Linked DNA regions of Homo sapiens: all the other regions are linked to region 2. The links are contacts of gene promoters, found by promoter capture Hi-C in blood cells and fetal thymus (Javierre and others, 2016). All regions are on one chromosome and are shown on one strand. The core of a region is centred on a gene start or on the middle of the fragment in contact, and the rest is flanking DNA. Distances in the headings are between cores, read along the strand shown.

Region 1 (3,634 bases), core at 57-2,556, 450 kb after region 2:
TGTAGATCCAGAAAAACTGGAAATGGAGAGTAAACTTCATAGAAATTTGCTATTTCAAGATTGTGAAAAAGAGCAAGACAACAAAACAAAAGATCCAACCCATGATGTTAAAACCCCCAATACAGAAACGAGGACAAGTTGCTTAATTAAATATAATGTGTCTACTACGCCATACTTGCAAAGGTAAACTTTTAAAATGTACCATGATTTGTTTTCATGCTTGGAGATAATAAATAACGGCATTTAAAAATCTTTGAGATAGCTTCAGATTACAGCTACCATTTATTAATATAGAAATTTCAGTACGGGCATGGTGGCTCACGCCTGTAATTTCAGCACTTTGGGAGGCCGAAGCAGACAGATCACTTGAGCCCAGGAGTTCAAGACTATCCTGGGCAACATGGCAAAACCCCATCTCTACAAAAAATAAAAAAAATTTTGGCTGGGCAAGGTGCTGTGTGCCTGTAGTCCCAGCTACCTGGGAGGCTGAGGTGAGAGGATCACTTGAGCCCAGGAGGCAGAGGTTGCAGTGAGCCAAGATCATGCCACTGTCCTCCAGCCTGGATGACAGAGCGAGACCCTGTCTCAAAACAAAAAAGAAAACAGAAAAGTTTTTAAACAAATAGAATGTCATTAGAACATTTCACCTCTTAAATACTGTATTTACTTTCCCTAACTATTGCCATTTTGAAAAAGAAAACTTTTATTTGAATTTACTTTAATCTGTGTGTTATTAATAACAGTAGGTTTTGGCTTTCAGGAATTAGCCAGTTCTACAGATACTCAGGTATCTACTGTATACAAGTTGTAATGACAAATTGAGAAAAGGATAAGTTTCTCACTTCGGTGAGCTTATAGTACCTCTCTAAAAGACAATTAAATGCTTTTACCTGCTTATAACATACAAGCTATATAGTATGGTACATATCATGAAAGTACAGAGTAAAAATGTTAACATGTTTTTGAACTCTGGAATATTGTTTTAATTTTCAGTGTGAAAAAAAAGGTGCAGTTTGATGGAACAAATTCCGCATTTAAAGAGCTGAAGTTTTTAACACCAGTGAGACGTTCTCGACGTCTTCAAGAGAAAACTTCTAAATTGCCAGATATGTTAAAAGATCATTATCCTTGTGTGTCTTCATTGGAACAGCTAACGGAGTTGGGAAGAGAAACTGATGCTTTTGTATGCCGCCCTAATGCAGCACTGTGCCGGGTGTACTATGAGGCTGATACAACATAAGAGAAATAAAGCTCTGTTAGGGAATGGGGTTTTTATTATTTGTGGGGTGTTTTGTTTTGAGTAGCTTTATATTGCTCTTAGGTCTGGAGTTGGCCATGTACCTATGTATCCTAAGCATTCACGGCAGTGAGCTCCTTTACTAACATTCATGTTATGGCAAGAGTTGTCCTCTACATTGGAAAGCTAATCCTACCTTGTCAGTTTCAACCAACTGAGTTTTTTCTTTAAGAAAGGTAAATTTTGTCAGCTAGTTTACTATGTTCCTTGAATATAAACAGGTTATAATACTACCCTGTTCACTTTACTAAATATAAGTACAGTAATGATGCATAATTAGAAAATGAGGTATTCTAGGTAAAATGTATGTTTGCCTTGACATGTTTTTAAAAGTTATGATGTACCTCCCTGCCTTTAAACAGAATACTTTTTTCTTTTTTTTGGCCTTTCTCAGATTAGTCAAAAATTCTATAGAATGACTCACTTCGAATACTAAGACACAGGAGGTTTAGCCTGCTTTCTTACCAAATTCATGTTACCCAGACTTGTGTTCTCTTGCGTCCCTTGGACTGCCTGTTGATTGATGGAAAGTGTCTGCACTGACACTTTTCGTCAGTAGTCTGTAGTTTCGTGGCCTCTTTTGATTATAACTGGGGTCACCAAGAAGGTTTACTTAATTAAATACCGCATTTCTAAGAGAAGATACTTTGTGTAAGAAAAGATGCCACATTTAGTGGTTTAACTTTTGTAACTTCACTTGATAGTTTTTAAGCAATTAGAATGGAGTTAGGGAAAGAACATATCATACTGAACAAATGTCATTCTAGTTTAGATAGCATTTCTAAGATAACTGATACTAATACTTGTTTTCTTCCCTATAACATAAAAAACTTCACTGTTAAGTCATGTCCCTTGAAACATGATAGTTACATACACAGTTTTCTCTCCACACATAAATAACACCACTAAAGTTGTTTTGTAAGGTTCCAAACTAATATGGCATATATCAACTCTACAGTTTCAAATAAATGACTTTTTAATTGTAAAAGATTAGTTGAAAAACTGTATGAATGTGAAGATCACATGCTTAGTCATTTTTATGTTCATTCCACTTTGTATATCTTTTCTATTTATTGACTTCTCATGTTCTAGAGAGTAGGACTTTTATTCCGTGTACCTGATATATATACAATTAAAATATCTGTGTAATTATGTTTTAATGAAGTTTATTTCAACAGATATTTTATGAAATGCAGTTTAACCACAGTGAATGAATTTTAGCTTTGCTTTTGAAATACATTGTAAGATTTGACTTGAGGTTTTTGACACTTAAGTACATGCTTAATGATATATTTTCAAAAGTCATCAGTCTACTTACATAAACTTTACCTAATTTTTTTCACTTTAACAAAAACATAACTATGCCCTTGTTTTTTCATACTTTGACCCAAAATATGCCATTTTGAAATAAAATTTAAGCTTTGATACACTCTCAGCTTTTTAATATCTGTACCATATAATTCATTTGTCTGTATAGCAGAGTTTGAAATGCCTCTGTTAGAGAACTCAAGATACAACTTTTATGTTTGGACAAGTTTTTAAGAGTGTTTTTTTTCCTCCTTTACCTGAGGGGAAAATCTGTCTCTAAATATTCCTAGTTCTAACATTCAACCAGAGGTCTAACCCCTTTTCTGGTGCTTAAGGACAGCTATGTTATCTCTCCCCTAGGTTTGTTCCAAGCTAAATGATGTGATACCGTGCATAAGCATCCAGTAGAGACATAACAGGGACCCCTCTTAAGGGCCCGCTTGGATCTTCCCGTGTATAGTAATAAAGGAAAAATCTTGAGTCTCTTCAAGGGAAATTCCAGGTAGCTACCTAGCTAGCCTCAAAAAAGTAAATTGAACATCCTGGAATAAGGAAAAAAATGTTTCGTTTCCTATAGTAATGAAAGAACATCTTGACGCTGAATTTTTTGGAAACCCAGATCCATACCAGATAAAAATGCCAACCACTGTCAAGTGGACCTCAGGTAAGGGGAAACAGGACTGAACTCTAAACCACCATTCTTGTCCGTCTCGGCCTCCCGAAGTGCTGGGATTACAGGCGTGAGCCACCGCACCCGGCCACAGGACTGTTGGTAACACTAAATGAGACAGTGTAAGTAAAGGGCCCCATGAGTGGCCCACCATCCTCTGAGCTTCCAATGCTATGTGGCCAACATTTTGTTTATTCCTAGATTCAACTTCCCTTTGCATTGTGACATTAGCTTTTTTGATAAATTCTACATATGTGTTTGTTTATTGTCTGTATCCCAACCAGTCAAAACCACCATGATATGCCTGTACTTGCTCTATTGAGAATAGATGTTCTTTCTTTCCAATTTATAGCAAAGAT
Region 2 (3,658 bases), core at 333-2,832:
ATTTTTCAGATAAAAACCCTGAGTATTGCTTTAGTATTGTGATCCTATCTGAAGACAGGTTTGTTGAATCTTAATTCTTGTTTATAGTATTTTATTACCATTTTTTTTACTAAGAACACTGTCAAAACTTTTTAGTATTTCTTTAGACCATCTCATTCATAAATCAACACTTACTGTTGATGCCTGTTCTGTGTGAAACCCTCAGTGGAGGAAATAGCAAAGAACTAGAAGTCATGGTCTCATTTGAAGGACTGTACTTCTAATTCAATAAAAAATGTAGAAAACATCATTTTTAGTATGACCAACATGGAGAAACCCTGACTCTACTAAAAATACAAAATTAGCCGGGCGTGGTGGTGCATGTCTGTAATTCCAGCTACTCGGGAGGCTGAGGCGGGAGAAGCACTTGAACCCGGGAGGCAGAGATTGTCAGCCAAGATGGCGCCATTGCACTCCAGCCTGGGCAACAAGAGTGAAACTGTCTCCAAAAAAAAAAAAAAAATCAAATCTTCTTTATAACTGTAAGAAAATAGTTATCTACAACTTTTTGCTTGATTTTAACCTAATATATTCTTTTTTTTGTTTTTGTTTTTGTTTTTTTGAGACGGAGTTTCACACTTGTTGCCCAGGCAGGAGTGCAGTGATGCAGTCTCGGCTCTCAGTCTCTCAGGGTAGGTAGCAGGCTTTTTTTTTTTTTTTTTTTTGAGATGGAGTCTCACTCTGTCACCCAGGCTGGAGTTCGGTGGCATGATCACGGCTCACTGCAACCTCCGCCTCCTGGGTTCAAGCGATTCTCCTGCCTCAGCCTCCTGAGTAGCTGGGATTACAGGTGCGTGCCACCGTGTCTGGCTAATTTTTGTAACTTAATATATTCTTAACCATTACATTCTATTTTAGGTATCCTGAAGCAGTTTATGTTGTTTATACCGGCGATGTTAATGTCAACGGTCAACAGATACTAGAAGGTGCTTTCAGAAGATTTAACATCAGATTAATTCACCCAGTGCAGTTTGTTTTTTTAAGGAAACGCTATCTTGTGGAAGATTCACTGTATCCTCACTTCACACTGCTGGGCCAAAGTCTAGGATCCATTTTTCTTGGCTGGGAAGCTCTAATGCAGTGTGTTCCTGATGTTTACATTGATTCAATGGGATACGCTTTTACGCTTCCTCTGTTTAAGTATATAGGGGGTTGCCAAGTTGGAAGCTATGTTCATTATCCTACTATCAGCACCGACATGCTCTCTGTAGTGAAGAATCAAAATATTGGATTTAATAATGCAGCCTTCATTACCAGGAATCCTTTTCTCAGCAAAGTAAAGCTCATCTACTACTATTTATTTGCTTTTATTTATGGACTTGTTGGTTCTTGCAGTGATGTAGTCATGGTCAATTCTTCTTGGACACTAAACCATATTCTCTCACTATGGAAAGTTGGGAATTGCACTAACATTGTTTATCCACCTTGTGATGTGCAGACATTTCTGGACATTCCCTTACATGAGAAAAAGATGACCCCAGGACATTTGCTGGTTTCTGTTGGCCAGTTTAGGCCGGAAAAGAATCATCCATTGCAGATCAGAGCCTTTGCTAAATTGCTGAATAAGAAGATGGTTGAGTCACCTCCTTCGCTTAAACTTGTCCTCATTGGAGGTTGTCGTAACAAAGATGATGAACTTAGGGTAAACCAACTGAGAAGGCTGTCTGAGGATTTAGGAGTTCAAGAATATGTGGAATTTAAAATAAACATTCCATTTGATGAATTAAAGAATTATTTGTCTGAAGCAACAATTGGTCTGCATACCATGTGGAACGAGCATTTTGGGATTGGTGAGTTTGGCCTTTAAACAACTTGTTTGGTGCCATGAGATACACATTTTAAGTTCTTTTGATAAAATGATAATACTCTGGAAATCTGCATCATGCCCTAATTCTCTTGCCCTCATCCACCAAATGTGCTTTCCTCACTTGAGACCTTGTAAGATAGTAGTTAATAATAGCAGCTAGTATTTATTGACCAATTCCTGTGTGTGGGCCACTGTGTTGAGATTTTTACATGTATTATCTAATTTAAGCCTTTCTAAACCCGTTTGATAGGTGTTATTGTTATTCCCATTTTATAAATAAAGAAACTCAGGCACAGGAAGGTTTAGAAATTGCTCGAGTTCAGTTACACAGTAAGTGGTAGAGCCCGGATTCTAACCCAGATAGCCCCTGCTCTTAACAGCAACATTTTCTCTCTCCATCTAACCCCACTACATACTTACTGGTACAGATTCCTGGGCCCTACCCTAATCCTACAGAATGGCCAAATGAGAATCTCTGGACAAGGCCCAGGTAGATGTATTTTGATAATGCTGCTTAAGTGATTCTGTTATGCATCAAAAGTTGAGAACCACTGTTTGCATAGGGGCTTCTCACAGTAACTCTTTTAGTCTTTTATTGATTCTACCCTCACCATTGGAATGGCTCTCCTCTTTGTGCCAGATTGCATCATAAGTCTTCAACTTAAATCTCCTTGCACTTTAGCCTTTCTTGTTTATTCTGGCACAAACTGCTATCTCTATTCTGACCTGTTAAGCACACATTTTGCTATAAAATCAAGTACTGCTTTGTGTTTAATTTGGGTCCACATATATTTCTCAAGCGCTTTGTGCCTCACACTGTTAGTTGTTAGGGGAAATGAGGATAACATAAAAGTGACATTTCCTAAACTAAGACTTCAATTTCTCTTATACTCTTTTTACTCCTAGTTAGTAGTGTAGTGCTAGGCCCAGACATTAAGCAAGAACTTGTTGACCCAACCTGTTGCATGGGATCTGACCTCCTGTGCTTCCTTCCATAGAAACTTACTAAGCATTCACTCTGCTGAGCGCTTGGGTGGATGCTAGGGATGTGGTGGAGACAGGAGCTGCTTGGCCTGTCAGAGGCTTCCCACCCTCTGGTGGTACCAACAGGCTACACAGGCAAGTGCCGTGCCGTGCTGTGCCGTGTGCCAGGTGCTATGCTAAGGAAGTGCAGGGTGATGTGAAAGCGCCAAAGAGAAACCTAACACAGACTTGTGCGGGCAGGGAACAGTTGCCCAAGGAAATGATGTGACACTTGAGCAGGACCCGAACAATAGAGGTTAGCCAGGAGAGAGGGGAGAGTCTCCAGCAGAGGGAACAGCACTGTGACAGGAGTGACAACAGATGCATCAATAGGAACATTCAGCAGGAAGACAACAGAGAGGTGATATAGGCCAGGTTAAGCCAGTGGAAAAAAATAGCAGGATTTTAAGTATTGCACGTAAAAGCTTTCTGATTTCTCCAGTCCATTCTGGCCACATGGGGAGTGGATCAGTGAAGAGCAGGGAGAGCAAGACTGGAAGGGCAGTAAGATGAGCCGGCCTACTGTAGCAGCCCAGATGGAGGTGCTCATGAGCTGAACTTCGTAGGTGAACATGCTTGAGAAACATTCTGCAGTAGTATTGACCAGGACTTGGTGATTAACTGGATGTGTTAAATGAGGGAGGAAGAGAAGACTACCTAGGGTTTTGGGAGCAGGGCAGCTGTGAGAATGGTGTTGGCTTTCTCCCAGAGGGGAAATCCAAGAGCAAATGCCATTAATGAGCCAAGTTTTGAACCTGCAGAATTTGAGTTCATCTGTGGGACATGTGA
Region 3 (3,375 bases), core at 611-3,110, 410 kb after region 2:
AAAGTAATATAATGAAGGCACTCAAAGAAAGAAAATGTGAGCTGAGGATTTTAAATCCAAGAAAACTGACCTTCATGTATAAGGAAGACAAACATGGCAGATACAGGGAATATTGTTCCTATGATCATTTCCTTAAAAATCTACTACAGAATGAGGCTTCAGACAACCAAAGCGACCACAGAGAGCTCAGCATAAGGACTAGTGGTACTAAACATGGAGGTACTTATAAAACTAAGAGTCAATGAGAGCTGGAGCTGAGGCAGAGAGTGTATGTAGTGGCTGTATGCTCAGACAGCGTAAACACAGTGCACCTATTTTTCAAATGTACAAAGAATGGGGAAAACACATAAAATTTTTTTTCAACTGCTTTAGTAATTATCTGGTAGTGTCATCTTAAATTTGAATAGAAAAGATAAGTACGCTCTTGTTAGGCACTTTATATTAACAACAACAAAATTCTAGCTCTGTCCATTGAAAAAGCCTAGAAACAAAGATCAACCCAATACTGATGAATATTACTAGCAGGCAGATTGTGGTTCTGAAATATCATTTCCCACTAAAAGAAACCAGAGCGGTCTGGGCGCGGTGGCTCATGCCTGTAATCCTAGCACTTTGGGAGGCCGAGGCAGGCGGTTCACGAGGTCAGGAGTTCGAGAGCAGCCTGACCAACATGGTGAAACCCCGTCTCTACTAAAAATACAAAAATTAGCTGGGCACAGTGGTGCGCGCCTGTAATCCCAGCTACTCGGGAGGCTAAGGCAGGAGAATCGCTTGAATCCGGGAAGCAGAGGTTGCAGTGAGCCAAAATAGCGGCACTGCACTCCAGCCTAAGCGACAGAGTAAGACTCTGTCTCAAAAAAAAAAAAAAAAAAAAGAAAGAAAGAAACCAGAGTTTCTCAGATAAATGGTTGATTCCGGATCTGAGGCAGGAAATGTACAAGATGGTCCTGGAGCTTTTGCAACACCAGATAGTGAAGAAGCTAGCAAAGTTCACCTAGTCACAACAAAAGCACTTAGAGGGCCAACTTGAAGCAGCTCCCACTGGCCAAAGATGGGACAATTTGAGCTTCAAATAGGATAATAATTATAACTGATTGAAATCCATCAAATATGCTAAACTCCATGAATTCATAATGACATGTTAAAAAAAACCTAATTAGTTGGCTGGGCGCGGTGGCACATGCCTGTAATCCCATCACTTTGAGAGGCCGCGGCGGCGGATCACGAGGTCAGAAGATTAAGACCATCCTGTCTAACATGGTGAAACCCCGTCTCTACTAAAAATACAAAAAATTAGCCAGGTTTGGTGGCGGGCGCCTATAGGCCCAGCTACTCGGGAGGCTGAGGCAGGAGAATGGCGTGAACCTGGGAGGCAGAGCTTGCAGTGAGCCAGGATCGAGCCACTGCACTCCAGCCTGGGCGACAGAGCAAGACTCTGTCTCAAAAAACAAAACAAAACAAAACAAAAAAACAAACAAACCTAATTAGTCATCGTCAAAAGATAATAAGGAAACAATTTATTACCCTGATGATAAAGGAAAATGCAATTATCCTGCCTTTCCTATATGAACTGGACAACCAAATAGTAGATAAGGGAAACATTTCTTTAAAAAGTATTCCAACTAATAAATGAAAAATAAACACAGAATTATCACTATTTACCACCACCAATGAACTAATAGATCTAGGCACTGAATATTAACAGCTGCTAACATGACAGAGATAAGATGTGCCTCTGACGAAAGAACACAGCATCACCTCTAGTTTTGCCAAACGGACAGAACATGAGTGTGACAGAGATTCTGGATCCAGCTGCCAATTTGGGGAAAATACAGGGTTGAGGAAAATATACAACTTCACCACAGATACATATCCAGAAAAACCTACTATGGGCACTTAATAGGTCAAATGCCCTTGGTTCCCCAACAGTAATCTATATTTTCAATTAGTGAGCCCAAAATAAGTATTTAAATAACTATTTGTAGTTTTAGACTTTACTTGATTGACATAAATCTTTGAAATTCTCTGAAAAGCAACCATCAACAGAATTTTACTTATGAATTACTATAAAAACCAAAGATTTACTTTAAAGCATCATTTCATAAAAAACCAAGACCATTTTTATATAAACATGGAAAAACCAGTGATATGTTTAGCTGTATTAACTAATTACAGAATCTAATGCATAACTGGTCTTTTTAGCTAGAGTTCTTTCCCCTTCTCTTGAATTTCCTCATATATCATGAAGCCTCAGAAACACTGGAATGTACATGCTCAGGGTTGTCCCCCAGTAGAAGTGATGGGCTGCTTTGAGCCGTTCTTACTGATGTCTGGTCTGATCCCTGGGTGGTCATCAACATAAAATGGTGTGGTATCTGGCCACAGACTGGCCACAGAATAGCATTTTTCTCTCAACTAAGTTACTTCAACTTCCAAAATAATTATACAGAGAACCCTGAACTCATTAGGAGTATCCGCCAATCAATTTCATCTAGACTGTAAAATCTACACACAACATTTTATGATGTTTTCTAACAGCAAACAAATTTGCATTTCTTTTTTATTCCTTTTAGAAAAAGGTTTTGGTTAGATTTTGCCAGCCCGAGGTAGACCTGTTAAAGAGAATAGGAGACTATGTAGCTTCAGGCAAATGAAATATATTCTAAATTACAGAAGGGAATTAGGCACAGCTGTATCTAAAAGAATAGACACAAATGGCTGGAATAGATGGAGAGCCAGAATTTAACAGTTACCTCAGAAATGTTTTTGTCAGTTTCTTTTCTTTTTTCTTCCAGTTTCCTTTCAATACCTACAATTCCTACAGCCCTTATTCTTCCTGGCTGAAAAAAAAAAGAGGTAGAAAATAAAACATACAAAATAGGAAGGAAACAAAATCTTTTGTAACCAACCACATTGTGTTTTCAATGGCGGGAAAGGACCTACAAAGAACCAAAGAAAAACAGCATACACGGACATTTAGCTTCCCTTCAAAACATGTGTTTGTTTCTTGCTGTACATAATGATCTTAAAATCATTCAGGAAAAACCAAATATACAATAAATGGCATATTTTACTCTGCATTTTAGAGATAAGTTAAATTTCCTATCATTTTCCTTCTTTGGCAAGCTATTACGTATCAGATACTTAATAGGGTCTCAAATGTACAAAAAAAATCACAGTTTAAATTTTGGTTCTTAATTAAGTTATTATTCAAGCTACTTTCATACATTTGAGTACCTGTCTAGTGTTGGTGATTAATTTAGACAGGCCTGGAAAACATTACCCAGCTGTACTGTCTATTCTCTCAAATGTCACACTGATTATGAAGAACAGAATGCAGTGAGTGAACCCTACCTTCTATCACCCTAAGAATTA

The links. Contacts are between HindIII fragments. The CHiCAGO score rates a contact against its expected background, and 5 or more counts as called.
Region 1: a contact is called between a fragment that was not itself captured here and the fragment with the promoter of UTP14C in region 2, in 1 of 17 cell types (neutrophils). The highest score is 6.9, in neutrophils.
Region 3: a contact is called between a fragment that was not itself captured here and the fragment with the promoter of UTP14C in region 2, in 1 of 17 cell types (neutrophils). The highest score is 5.7, in neutrophils.

The regions. Positions count from the first base shown.
Region 1 is chr13:52,473,902-52,477,535 of GRCh38, forward strand. CKAP2 (cytoskeleton associated protein 2) reads left to right here. Exons shown (of 9, transcript NM_018204.5): 8 at 1-183; 9 at 994-2,726. The coding sequence ends at 1,240. Among named protein-coding and RNA genes, the nearest start is that of CKAP2, 20 kb to the left of the region's middle. The HindIII fragment of the contact is 2,816 bases long and covers 1-2,714 here.
Region 2 is chr13:52,023,109-52,026,766 of GRCh38, forward strand. UTP14C (UTP14C small subunit processome component) reads left to right here and starts at 1,583. Exons shown (of 2, transcript NM_021645.6): 1 at 1,583-1,829. ALG11 (ALG11 alpha-1,2-mannosyltransferase) reads left to right here. Exons shown (of 4, transcript NM_001004127.3): 3 at 898-1,829. The HindIII fragment of the contact is 12,744 bases long and covers 1-3,292 here.
Region 3 is chr13:52,430,909-52,434,283 of GRCh38, forward strand. It overlaps VPS36 (vacuolar protein sorting 36 homolog), which reads right to left. Exons shown (of 14, transcript NM_016075.4): 6 at 2,754-2,840. Among named protein-coding and RNA genes, the nearest start is that of VPS36, 18 kb to the right of the region's middle. The HindIII fragment of the contact is 7,600 bases long and covers 1-3,375 here.